Linked DNA regions of Homo sapiens: all the other regions are linked to region 1. Evidence: promoter capture Hi-C in 16 types of primary human blood cells and fetal thymus (Javierre and others, 2016). All regions are on one chromosome and are shown on one strand. Each heading gives the region's core, a stretch centred on a gene start or on the middle of the fragment in contact. The rest is flanking DNA. Distances are from core to core; before and after follow the strand shown.

Region 1 (2,822 bases), core at 100-2,599:
TCTTCCCGGCCGCCCATCGTCTGGGATGTGGGGAGCGCCTCTGCCCCGCCGCGACCCCGTCTGGGAACTGAGGAGTGTCTCTGCCCCGCCGCCACCCTGTCTGGGAGGTGAGGATCGTCTCTGACTGGCCGCCCCGTCTGAGAAGTGAGGAGCCACTCTGCCCGGCAGCCGCCCCGTCCGGGAGATGAGGAGCGTCTCCTCCCGGCAGCCGCCCCGTCCAGGAGGTGGGGGGAAAGCCCCCGACCGGCCAGCCGCCCCGTCTGGGAGGTGGGGGGCAGCCCCCTCCCAGCCGCCGCCCTGTCTGGGAGGTGGGGGGGGGGGGCGCCTCTGCCCGGCTGCCCCATTTGGGAAGTGAGGAGCCCCTCTGCCCCGCCGCCACCCCATCTGGGAGGTGTACCCAATAGCTCATTGAGAACGGGCCATGATGACGATGGCGGTTTTGTCGAATAGAAAAGGGGGAAATGTGGGGAAAAGAAAGAGAGATCAGATTGTTACTGTGTCTGTGTAGAAAGAAGTAGACATAGGAGACTCCATTTTGTTCTGTACTAAGAAAAATTCTTTTGCCTTGGGATGCTGTTAATCTATAACCTTACCCCCAACCCCGTGCTCTCTGAAACATGTGCTGTGTCCACTAAGGGTTAAATGGAAAAAAAAAAAAAGGAGGACAGGAACTATGTGTCTAGTTCATTATCTCCATTTCCTGGTACCATGCCTAGCAGGTGGTAGACTTCACTCAATAAATATCTGGTGAATCAGTGTCTTTCTGGAAATTTATACATAACTCCTTGAATGAGGCAACATGCTTCTGCACTATTTAATAAGAAAAACTAAGTCAAGTTTCTAATCTGTGGTTTTGTTTTGCTTTGAGAACAGGGTCTTGGCTATGTTGCCCTGTCTGGTCTCGAACTTCTGATCTCGAGCGATCACTCCCACCTCTCCCTTCCTAAGTGTTGGGATTAACAGGAGTGAGCCACCGCGCCCGGCCAAGTCTCCAACTTGCTCGAGGTCACTGAACTTGCAATTGAAGAAGCTACGATTCGAACCCATGTCTGTAGGATCCCAGAGCCCTCATTGTCAAATACATACTGAAGTTTCCCAGTTTTCGGGAACCCCGCAGTACAAGGTGACCGAGGACAATACCAGAAATGGGAGCCCCAGACCCCACGTAGCGGCGAAGTTCCCAGAAGGCACAGCGCTCGGGGGTGTGGCCAGACGCATGGGCGGTGCCAAGCGTAGGAAGATGGTTGGGAACTGCGTCTCCCCCAAGGCTCCGCAGGGCGCCGCTGACTGGCGGAAGCGAGGGCGGGGACAGCGGAATGACGTTTTAAGGACGCTTGCGCGCGGGATTTAAACTGCGGCGGTTTACGCGGCGTTAAGACTTCGTAGGGTTAGCGAAATTGAGGTTTCTTGGTATTGCGCGTTTCTCTTCCTTGCTGACTCTCCGAATGGCCATGGACTCGTCGCTTCAGGCCCGCCTGTTTCCCGGTCTCGCTATCAAGATCCAACGCAGTAATGGTGAGGAGCGGGGTCCCTAGGTCAAGGGGACTCGTGAGCGGTGAGACGACTGAAATTACTGCCCGTCCCCGGACACACAGATGGGCTTTCACTCTCTTTCTCTCCCTCCCTCCTTTTCACACGCACTCACTCCGGGTCTCTGCACTGGCAGTCATTCTTGCCTACACAGGGGTGAGAGTCCCTGCGCTGTACGTGGTCCCTTTCGCAGTCCTCTGGGAGTGGGCGGACCTTCTCCAAGGCTGGTAGACCTCCCAGGGAAGTTGGGACTTCTAAATTCACTTCCCTTCCAAAATTCTCCCCTGAAAATGCCCTGCTCTTATGGGGACCTCGGTCTCCTGGCCCCTTTACTCTCGAATAAATATTGCGCAGTTGCGGTATGTCAGGTAAACGGGACAGACAAGAACCCTGCGCTTGAGGAGCTTGTAGTCGTTCTCTCTTTTGCTTAAGCAGGTACCGCAGTTCTGGCAGGTCTGATACCCGTGTCATTAGGGAAATGGACAGATATGACCGCCAGAAATGAGTTAGGAAAACCCCAAAAGGGCCAGATCCTCAATGCTATGTTGAGGAAAAGTTCATCTAAGGGTTGTGGGGAATCCTGTGCTCAAACATACCTTTTGTATGTTCTCTTTTGTAGGCTCTATCTCTCTTTTTTTGTAGGCTCTCTTGAGTAGGGGTGAATCCTTATCCCATGCAGCTCAGTTTAAAAACCTGTCCCCAGCCCACCTCACTGTGGATATTCTAAAGGTGAAGCCCAGGAGATTTATTTGTTTCTCTTAGTTTTTTTTTTTTTTTTTTTTAAGGTAGCTGCCTGTTCCTTCAGGTTAACTCCACTTTGGGAATCTCTGTGGAATCCTAAAAGTGAAGCTCTCAGGAAAGAGATGGGTAACTCTGGTTTTTTCATACTTTATAGGTTTAATTCACAGTGCCAATGTAAGGACTGTGAACTTGGAGAAATCCTGTGTTTCAGTGGAATGGGCAGAAGGAGGTGCCACAAAGGGCAAAGAGGTAGGTTCTATGAGAATTCCTCTACCACATTTAATGTCTTCCTACATAAAGGATCTGTGCAGAAGTGGAATCTGTGAGAGCCTAGTTTCTGATGCTGTGCTCTTCTCACTCACGCCTGTAATCCCAGAACTTTGGGAGGCTGAGACGGGCAGATCACCTGATGTCAGGAGTTCGAGACCATCCTGGCCAACATGGCGAAACCTGTCTCTACTGAAAATACAAAAATTAGCCAGTCGTGGTAGTGCATGCCTGTAATCCCAACTACTTGGGAGCCTGAGGCAGGAGAACTGCTTGAACCTGGG
Region 2 (2,822 bases), core at 179-2,678, 840 kb after region 1:
AGGCACACTGCTTTCCATAACTGATTTGTCTTGCAACTTTCTGAACAAGTCACAGCTTCCCCTTTTTTTTTTTTTTGAGACGGAGTCTCGCTCTGTTGCCCAGGCTGCAGTGCAGTGGCGAGATCTCGGCTCACTGCAACCTTTGCCTCCCGGGTTCAAGTGATTCTCCTGCCTTAGCCTCCCGAGTAGCTGGGATTACAGGAGCCTGCCACCACACCTGGCTAATTTTCGTATTTTTAGTAGAGACGGGGTTTCACCATGTTGGCCAGGTTGGAACCTTGGCCTATTTATTTATTTATTTTTGAGACGGAGTTTCGCTCTGTTGCCCAGGCTGGAGTGCAGTGGCGAGCTCTCGGCTCACTGCAACCTCTGCCTTCCGGGTTCTAGTATTCTCCTACCTCAGCCTCCCGAGTAGCTGGGATTACAGGCGCCCGCCACCACGCCCGGCTAATTTTTGTATTTTTTAGTAGAGACGGGGGGGTCTCACCATCTTGGCCAGGCTGGTCTTGAACTCCTGACCTCGTGATCCACCAGCCTAGGCCTCCCAAAGTGCTGGGATTACAGGCGTGAGCCACCGCGTCCGGCCCCTTGGTTTATTTTTCTAAGAAACAGACTAACACTGATCTCACTAGTAGCATTGTTAATATTAAACAAGATAGCTAATAGCTTTAAAGCGTCTAATCACGGTACCCCCACGAGTAGTAGTCACACAGCAAATCATAGGCAGGAGTGGACAAACAGCGCTGGGAGCATTAATTCTGGTAGATTTGGAGTCTGGGCAGGGCCTAAGAGGATGGGATCAGCGGATTGGGCCAGCCAAAGGGGGCGGGTTCAGAGGGAGGAGCCAGCTGCCTCCCGCTGCAAGCCCCGAGCTTTGAATCAAGCGCGGTAGTTTCAGCTGTAGCCAATCCTAGAACAAAATCTTTTTGCGTCAGTTGTTGCTGAGGCCTAGATCTCACCCAGATCAGTTCTAGTCGCTGCTGCTTGTACCCGTCCTCGGCCCTTGCGTGTCCGTCCGTTACGACTCAGAGGACGGAGAGAAAGTCTAAGTCACCTTCCTCAGTATCCAGGCCGGAAGGAGACTCTCAGCTACTCGCCCTGAACATGCAGAGCAGCACTGGCTTCCCTGTCTCTGGATGCCGCAGGGGCGTCCTGTCAGGAGTTGTAGTGTCAAGATTCCAGTTCTTCTTATGCGACTTGCTGGAGAAGCAGGAAGTTGCTGTTTATTGGAGAAGTCGGGCTAGGGAGGGAAACAATCCCGCGGAGCCATATGGAGAGGGCAGGAGGTGTCTAGATAGTGGTAGGCCGGCGGGGGACGGAGGGTATGGGTGGTGAGTCCTGGCCCTTTAAACCCGAGGGGGAGGATCCGGAAGTGGATGGGCGGGGCGAAGGGTCCTCGTATATAAAAGGGCCCCGGCCGCGCGGGGTCTCTAATCTGCCATTTTCTGTCCCTGAGTGAGTCTCTGGCGTCCCAAATTGCCTGTTTTTCTCGCAGGCTCTATTCCGTTCGCTGGTTCGCCACCTCAGGGGAACGATGGCCATGGAGTCCACAGCCACTGCCGCCGTCGCCGCGGAGCTGGTTTCTGCCGACAAGTAAGCGGGACTGTGGAAAGCTTAAGGCACTGGCCAGTCCGCGGGGAGGGCTAATGGACGGGGGCTCCGGAGAAGGGGCAGACCGGTGGGCGGGAGTACTTGCCTTCCCAAGAGCAGCTGTCGCTGTTCGGGAAGGCCTGGTCACTGGAGCAGTCCTTCTTTTGCTGAGAGCCTCGCGCAGCAGCGGTAACGGCGGTCGGCTGGCGCCCCCTGCCCCGCTTTTCGCGGCCGCCATCTTGCCGGGGGCAGCGGCGGCTGTATCCTTCGCCTGCCCCTCTCCTTCCTCCCCCAGCCCGGGGCGGTTGGCCGGGAGGCGGGGCCCTGGCGCGCGGGTTGGCCTTCACGCCCCTTCTGTCCCCAGCGTGTGCCTCTGGTAGAACCCCTGGATAACCCGGGAATATAACCAACGAAGATTTGGCGCCAAAAGGGAAAAAAAACCTTGCACGAGGAAGGAGGCTGGACCTGAGGGGTCGGGGTGGGCGGGGCCTTGCTGAGGGCGGGGTTTTGCGCGCGTGCGTTCGCTTCCCTCGCCGGCCCTGGGGCAGGGGGCGGGGCCTTGAGGAGGCGGGAAAACTCCATTGTTTGGGGCCGCTGCGGCTCCAGCAGGAGCTTTGGACTATCTCCGTGGGGCCGGCGAGGCTAGTTCCCCCCGACACCTCGCTCACGTCTTGTGCTGGGAGATAGTTATCGCTCCCCGCGACTCCGTGAGCCCCTGCCTGTGGTGGGGAGGATTGTCGTTCTTTAGACTTTGGAGGTGGTGTCTGTTTGGGGGGAACATTACCGGACGTAAAGCGTCTTCAGGAAGCGCTGTCTGGAGCTCTCACCAGCACTGTTTGGTTGCTAGGTGAATCGGCAGTAGTATGCACGAAGTGGAGAAGGACTGGAGGGAAACAAGATAGGATTGTTTTGAAAGCGGCACAGTGCCACTCAGGCGTAATCTGTTTTTTGAACAGTGGAGGGAAACACTACACGAGTTCAAGGAAACAAGTGCTGTTTCCCATACAGTAGGTCTGATTTCCCAATCTTGCCATATTTTTTTAGGCATCTGGTTCTATTTTTTTTTCTAATCTTGTGCGCTTTAGAGGTTAGTTGCCTTCCCTGTAAAAGGAATGGTTGCTGTGAAGTTTTTTAAATTGATATTCTATAGGCTTACACTCTGTCATGATTATGTCTTTGTTTGTTTATAGTTAGAGATTTACGTATATCTCTGCTTACCACCTTTTCTCTCT
Region 3 (2,822 bases), core at 159-2,658, 570 kb after region 1:
GCGAATCACCTGAGGTCAGGAGCTCAAGACCGGCCGGACCAACATGGAGAAACCCCATCTCAAAATACAAAATTTAGCTGGGCATGGTGGCGTGCACCTGTAATCCCAGCTACTTGGAAGGCTGAGGCAGGAGAATCGCTTGAACCCAGGAGGCAGAGGTTGAAATCAAATGAGATCATGCCATTGCACTCCAGCCTGGGAGACAGAGTGAGACTCCATCTAAAAAAACAAAAAAAGAATCCGTTTTCATTTGTAACAGGACACAATTGGAGAAACTGGTTATTTAACCAAGGCTTTGACTGGAATAGTGTGCTTTCCTTTGAGAAATCAAACCTGACTTACGGAGCCAATAAAGCCCTTGGGAAAACTGGCATCATATTTTGTGTATACAGTCCCTATGCAGGGTTTCTGATGTGTGGTAAGTAAATAACGTCACATTCTGACAGGCCCAGAAGCCCCAGGTTTATCTTGGAACCTCAAGAGGAGAGGAAATTCACCCAACTCACAGATATTTCATGGCACAAATCCATGGCTGGGCTCGACTTTTAAAAAGTCTTTTCTGAGATTCCTCTTATGTAATGAAGTTCCATCAAAGCCAATTTAAAAGCCTATGTATGGTGGACACGGTGGGTCACACCTGTAATCCCAGCACTTTGGGAGGCTGAGGTGGGTGGATCACCTGAGGTCAGGAGTTCAAGACCAGCCTGGCCAACATGGTAAAACCCCATCTCTACTAAAAATACAAAAAATTAGCTGGGCGTGTTGGTGGCGTTCTGTAATCCCAGCTACTCAGGAGGCTGAGGGAGGAGAATTGCTTGAACCTGGGAGGCTGAAGTTGCAGTGAGCCGAGATAATGCCATTATACTCCAGCCTTGGCAACAGGAGCAAAACTCCATCTCAAAAAATAAAATTAAATAAATAAATAAAAGTTTATGTAAAAAAAATTATTCTTGCTGCACTTTATACAAATGATTATGACAAGTATAATAAAGCAAGCCAGTCCTACGATGATTTGTCTTTAGTAAAAATGGGAACCTGGAGAGAGAAAAATTATGTTTTGGAGCTACAGTACACCTGCTGTTAGATTCTAGTCTTGCCTAATGTTTTTTCAATTTTTATTTTCTTTTTGCTTTTTTTTGAGATGGAGTTTTGCTCTTGTTGACCATGATGGGGTATAATGGTGTGATCTCAGCTCACTGCAACCTCTGCCTCCTGGGTTCAAGTGATTCTCCTGCCTCAGCCTCCTGAGTAGCTGGGATTATAGGTATGTGCCACCACACCCAGCTAATCTTGTATTTTTAGTAGAGATGGGGTTTCTCCATGTTGGTCAGGCTGGTCTCCAACTCCTGACCTCAGGTGATCCGCCTGCCTTAGCCTCCCAAAGTGCTGGGATTACAGGTGTGAGCCAGTGTGCCCAGCCCAATTTTCATTATTTTCTACAGTCTGGACCGAATTCTAATATTTTCTTGGCTACAAGTCTTCAAAATGATGTTTTTATTTTTTTCTCCTTTTTTTCCCCCATTTTTCCTAATTTGGAGTCACTGAAAACTAAGCTGTGCTTTCTTAAAGCCCTATGAACTGAAGCCAGACAACTTAAATTTCAGACTGTTCATGATATGCTTGGAGTTTCTGGTTTGTCCTGAACATCCCTCCTTCTTAAACAACTAGTCATTTTCTCATATGAAATTTCTCTTTCTCATATGAAATTACTTCTCCCTAAGCTGCCTGGCAAAAAAAAAACAACCTATTTATTTAGGGTTTTTATTTTAATTAATTAATTAATTTATTTATTTTTGAGATGGAGTCCCACTCTGTTGCCCAGGCTGGAGTGCAATGGTGCCATCTTGGTTCACTGCAGCCTCCTCCTCCTGGGTTCAAGTGATTCTCCTGCCTCAGCCTCCGAAGTAGCTGGGATTACAGGTGCGCGCCACCATGCCTGGCTAATTTTTGTATTTTTAGTAGAGATGGGGTTTCACCTTGTTGGTCAGGCTGGTCTTGAACTCCTGACTTCAGGTAATCCACCCACCTCGGCCTCCCTAAGTGCTAGGATTACAGGCATGAGCCACTGCACCTGGCCACCTGGCCTTATTTTTTTTTTGAGACGCAGTCTCGCTCTTTTCGCCCAGGCCCCAGTGCAGTGGCGCTATCTCAGCTCACTGCAAGCTCCGCCTCCCAGGTTCACGTCATTCTCCTGCCTCAGCCTCCCGAGTAGCTGGGACTACAGGCGCCCACCACCACGCCCTGCTAATTTTTTGTATTTTTAGTAGAGACGGGGTTTCACCGTGTTCGCCAGGATGGTCTCGATCTCCTGACCTCGTGATCTGCCCGCCTCGGCCTCCCAAAGTTTTGGGATTACAGGCGTGAGCCACCAGGCCCGGCCTATTTATTTATTTATTTATTTTGAGACAATGTCTCACTCAGCCACCCAGGCTGGAGTGCAGTGGCATGATCTTGGCTCACTGCAACCACCATCTCCTGGATTCAAGCGATTCTCCCATCTCAGCCTCCCGAGTGGCGGTGATTACAGGCACCCACCATCATGTCCAGCTAATTTTTGTATTTTAGTAGAGACAGGGTTTCACCATGTTGGCCAGGCTGGTCTTGAACTCCTGACCTCAGGTGATCCACCCGCCTCGGCCTCCCAAAGTGCTGGGATTACAGATGTGAGCCACTGTGCCTGGCCAAACCTCTTTGTTTTTATAACTTCCTATCTTGTTTCATACATAAATAATCTTTGAAGTAGACAAAAATGATTCACCTTTTTTAAAGGTGAATTCACTTTTTTTTAGCAAGAATGTTTTCCTACAATATATATTTTATTT
Region 4 (2,822 bases), core at 169-2,668, 550 kb after region 1:
AATGTGGTGTACTCCCACTCACCTCCTCTCTCTCCCTGACCTTTGTGAGTTCTCTTGACCTCTTTCTCCGAGTACCCTAGCCCAACCCCAGGCATTGTCAATGACTCTCTGGCACAATTAGCTCTTTGCTTTCACTCAGGTAACTCAGAAATCTTCTGTGCCCTTGTAGAGATGCTCTTCCCTGAAATCCTCACATTTTAGAACCTGTATCAGCCCAACATCTCCAGCTAGTGTTAATTGGGAGGGATCTCTCCACCACTTTCCCCCTCTAGAGAGCTAGCCAGGGGCCAGGACAACTAGGCAAGCAGGCACTGCACCAGCTACCCTCACAGCAGTTCCCATGTGACATTCTATTTAATCCTCACAACAAACCTGTGAGTTAGGCATTATTATATCTTCATTTTACAGATGAGAAAACGAAGGCACCACACAGTAAAGAAACTTCCCTATGCCAGGCACAGCGGCTCACACCTGTATTCCCAACACCTTGGGAGGCCAAGGCAGGAGCATCACTTAAGCCCAGGAGTTCAAGGCTGAAGTGAGTCACAATCGCATCATTGCGCTCCAGCCTAAGCGACAGAGGAAGGCCCCTGTCTCATTAAATACATAAATAAATAAAAGAAACTTGCCTAATGCCACATAGTTAATGATACTTGACCTAGACTAGAGAAAGCTTCCTTGAGAAGCTTTGAGCTGAAGGAGTAGAAAATAGAAGAATATTGCTATGGTCTGAATGTTTGTGTCCCTTAAGTTTCATATGTTAAAATTTTAACTGCCAAGGTGAAAGGTATTGGGGGGTGGAGGCTTTGGGAGAGATTAGATCATGAGGGTTCCTCATGAATGGGATTAGTGCTCATATTAAAGAAGCTCAAGGGAGCTTGTGTGCCCTCCCAGCATGTGAGGACACAGGAAGAAGGCGCCATCTGTGAACAGGAAGAGGGCCCTCACCAGACACCAAATTTGCCAGCACCCTGATATTGGAGTTCCCAGCCTCTAGAACTGTAAGAAATAAAGCTCTTTTGTTCTATAAGCTACCCAGTCTATGGTATTTTCTTATAGCAGCTCAAACGGACTAAGATGAGTATCATGTGCAAAGGTCCTGTGCCAGGAGGGAGCCTGTGTGTTTGAGAGAAGATCATGTAGCTGAAGCTGGGTAAGAGAGCAGAGCAAGAGGGGCAGAGGCCAGGCTAGACAAGGCCTTGGAGACCTCCTTGAAGTTTTGGATCTCTGTTATAAGAGCAACAGGAAGCCATCAGCTGGATTTAAACAGAGAAATAATGAAGTAAAGTCATCAGTGGGTTTTAAGCAGTTGGAAAAGATTCTTCTGGGACAGTGTAGATAAATGATTGCAGGGCAAGTGAAAGGCAGGGAGACCATTAGTGTCCATGGTGGTAATCCCAGCAAGAGACGGTGGTAATCCAAGCAAGAGACGCTGGTAACGCGGATTAGGACAACAGCAGTAGAGACAGAAGTGAAAATGGAAAGAAGTGGATGCTTTCAAGAGCCATGTAAGAGAGAAAATTGGCAGCACTTGGTGACTGGACACGGCTACAGGGTGAGGGAGAGGTTGAGGTCCAGGTTTCTGGCTGGTGCAACTAGCTGGGTGGTACATGTTTCACTCAGATAGGGGATGCTGGGCAAAGAAAAGATTTGGGGGAAACTGTGTTCAGCTTGAGACATGTTGGATTTGAGTAAGACACCAAAGGGGAACTATCCAAAAGACAGCTGGACATGGGAGCTCGAAGGTCAAAACAGAGGTGTGGGCCTGAGTACATATTTGGGAGCTGTAACCAGGACCAGCCCATCCGCTAAGCACAGTAGAGACATGAGTGCCCCAGGACTTTTAGGGCTGACAAAAATGCTTTAATTCCTGATATGGTTTGGATGTTTGTCCCCACCCAAATCTCATGTCAAATTGTAATACCCAGTGTTAGAGGTGGGACCTGGTGGCAGGTGATTGGATCATGGGGGTGAACTTCTCATGAATGGTTTGGCACCATCCTCTTGGTGCTGTCTTCACAATAGTGAGTGAGTTCTTGCAAGATCTGGTCATTTAAAAGTGTGTGGCACCTCCCCCGCCCCACCCCGCCTTCTTGCTCCTGCTTTCACCATGTGATGGGCCTGCTCTCCCTTCACCTTCCACCATGATTGGAAGCTTCCCGAGGCCTCCCCAGAAGTAGATACCACTATGCTTCCTGTACAGCCTGCAGAACCATGAGCCTATTCAACCTCTTTTCTTTGTTTTTCTTTTTCATTTTTTTAAATAATTGAGATGGGATCTTGCCATGTTGCCCAGGCTGGTCTCAAACTCCTGGGCTCAAGTGATCCTCTTGCCTCAGCCTCCCAAAGTACTAGGATTACAGGCATGAGCCACCATGCCCAGCCAAAACTCCTTTCTTACAAATCACCCAGTCTCAGGTATTTCTTTTTCTTTCTTTCTTTCTTTTTTTTTTTTTTTTTTTTGAGACAGGATTTTGCTCTGTCACTCAGGCTGGAGTGCAGTGGAACAATCTCAGCTCACTGCAACCTCCGCCTCCTGGGTTCAAGAAATCTTCCCATCTCAGCCTCCCCAGCAGCTGAGACTACAGGCACACACCACCACAACTGGCTAATTTTTTATTTTTCTGTAATTTTTGGTAGAGATGAGGTTTCTCCATGTTGCCCAGGCTGGAGGAATTTCTAGCAGTGCAAGAGCACCCTAATACAATTCCCTTTAAATCAGAAGAAAAAACAAACTTTTAAGTCAAAAGTTTTTTGGTTTGTTTGTTTGTTTGTTTTTGAGATAGAGTCTCGCTCTGTCACCCAGGCTGGAGTGCAATGGC

What was found. Contacts are between HindIII fragments. The CHiCAGO score rates a contact against its expected background, and 5 or more counts as called.
Region 2: the fragment with the promoter of NASP here is called in contact with the fragment with the promoter of KIF2C in region 1 in 7 of 17 cell types (non-activated CD4 T cells, naive CD8 T cells, neutrophils and 4 more); the score reaches 11.0 in non-activated CD4 T cells.
Region 3: a contact is called between a fragment that was not itself captured here and the fragment with the promoter of KIF2C in region 1, in 1 of 17 cell types (naive CD8 T cells). The highest score is 5.2, in naive CD8 T cells.
Region 4: a fragment that was not itself captured here is called in contact with the fragment with the promoter of KIF2C in region 1 in 5 of 17 cell types (total B cells, activated CD4 T cells, naive B cells and 2 more); the score reaches 8.0 in total B cells.

What each region holds. Positions count from the first base shown.
Region 1 is chr1:44,738,488-44,741,309 of GRCh38, forward strand. It overlaps KIF2C (kinesin family member 2C), which reads left to right and starts at 1,350. Exons shown (of 21, transcript NM_006845.4): 1 at 1,350-1,515; 2 at 2,426-2,520. The coding sequence starts at 1,446. RefSeq lists an enhancer at 1,001-1,170. The HindIII fragment of the contact is 10,096 bases long and covers 1-2,822 here.
Region 2 is chr1:45,582,613-45,585,434 of GRCh38, forward strand. It overlaps NASP (nuclear autoantigenic sperm protein), which reads left to right and starts at 1,429. Exons shown (of 15, transcript NM_002482.4): 1 at 1,429-1,593. The coding sequence starts at 1,535. RefSeq lists enhancers at 45-94, 505-564, 1,015-1,324 and silencers at 855-914, 1,825-2,124. The HindIII fragment of the contact is 9,802 bases long and covers 1-1,611 here.
Region 3 is chr1:45,311,461-45,314,282 of GRCh38, forward strand. No RefSeq gene overlaps it. Among named protein-coding and RNA genes, the nearest start is that of LINC01144, 9.0 kb to the left of the region's middle. The HindIII fragment of the contact is 4,516 bases long and covers 1-2,822 here.
Region 4 is chr1:45,292,226-45,295,047 of GRCh38, forward strand. No RefSeq gene overlaps it. Among named protein-coding and RNA genes, the nearest start is that of LINC01144, 10 kb to the right of the region's middle. The HindIII fragment of the contact is 1,469 bases long and covers 685-2,153 here.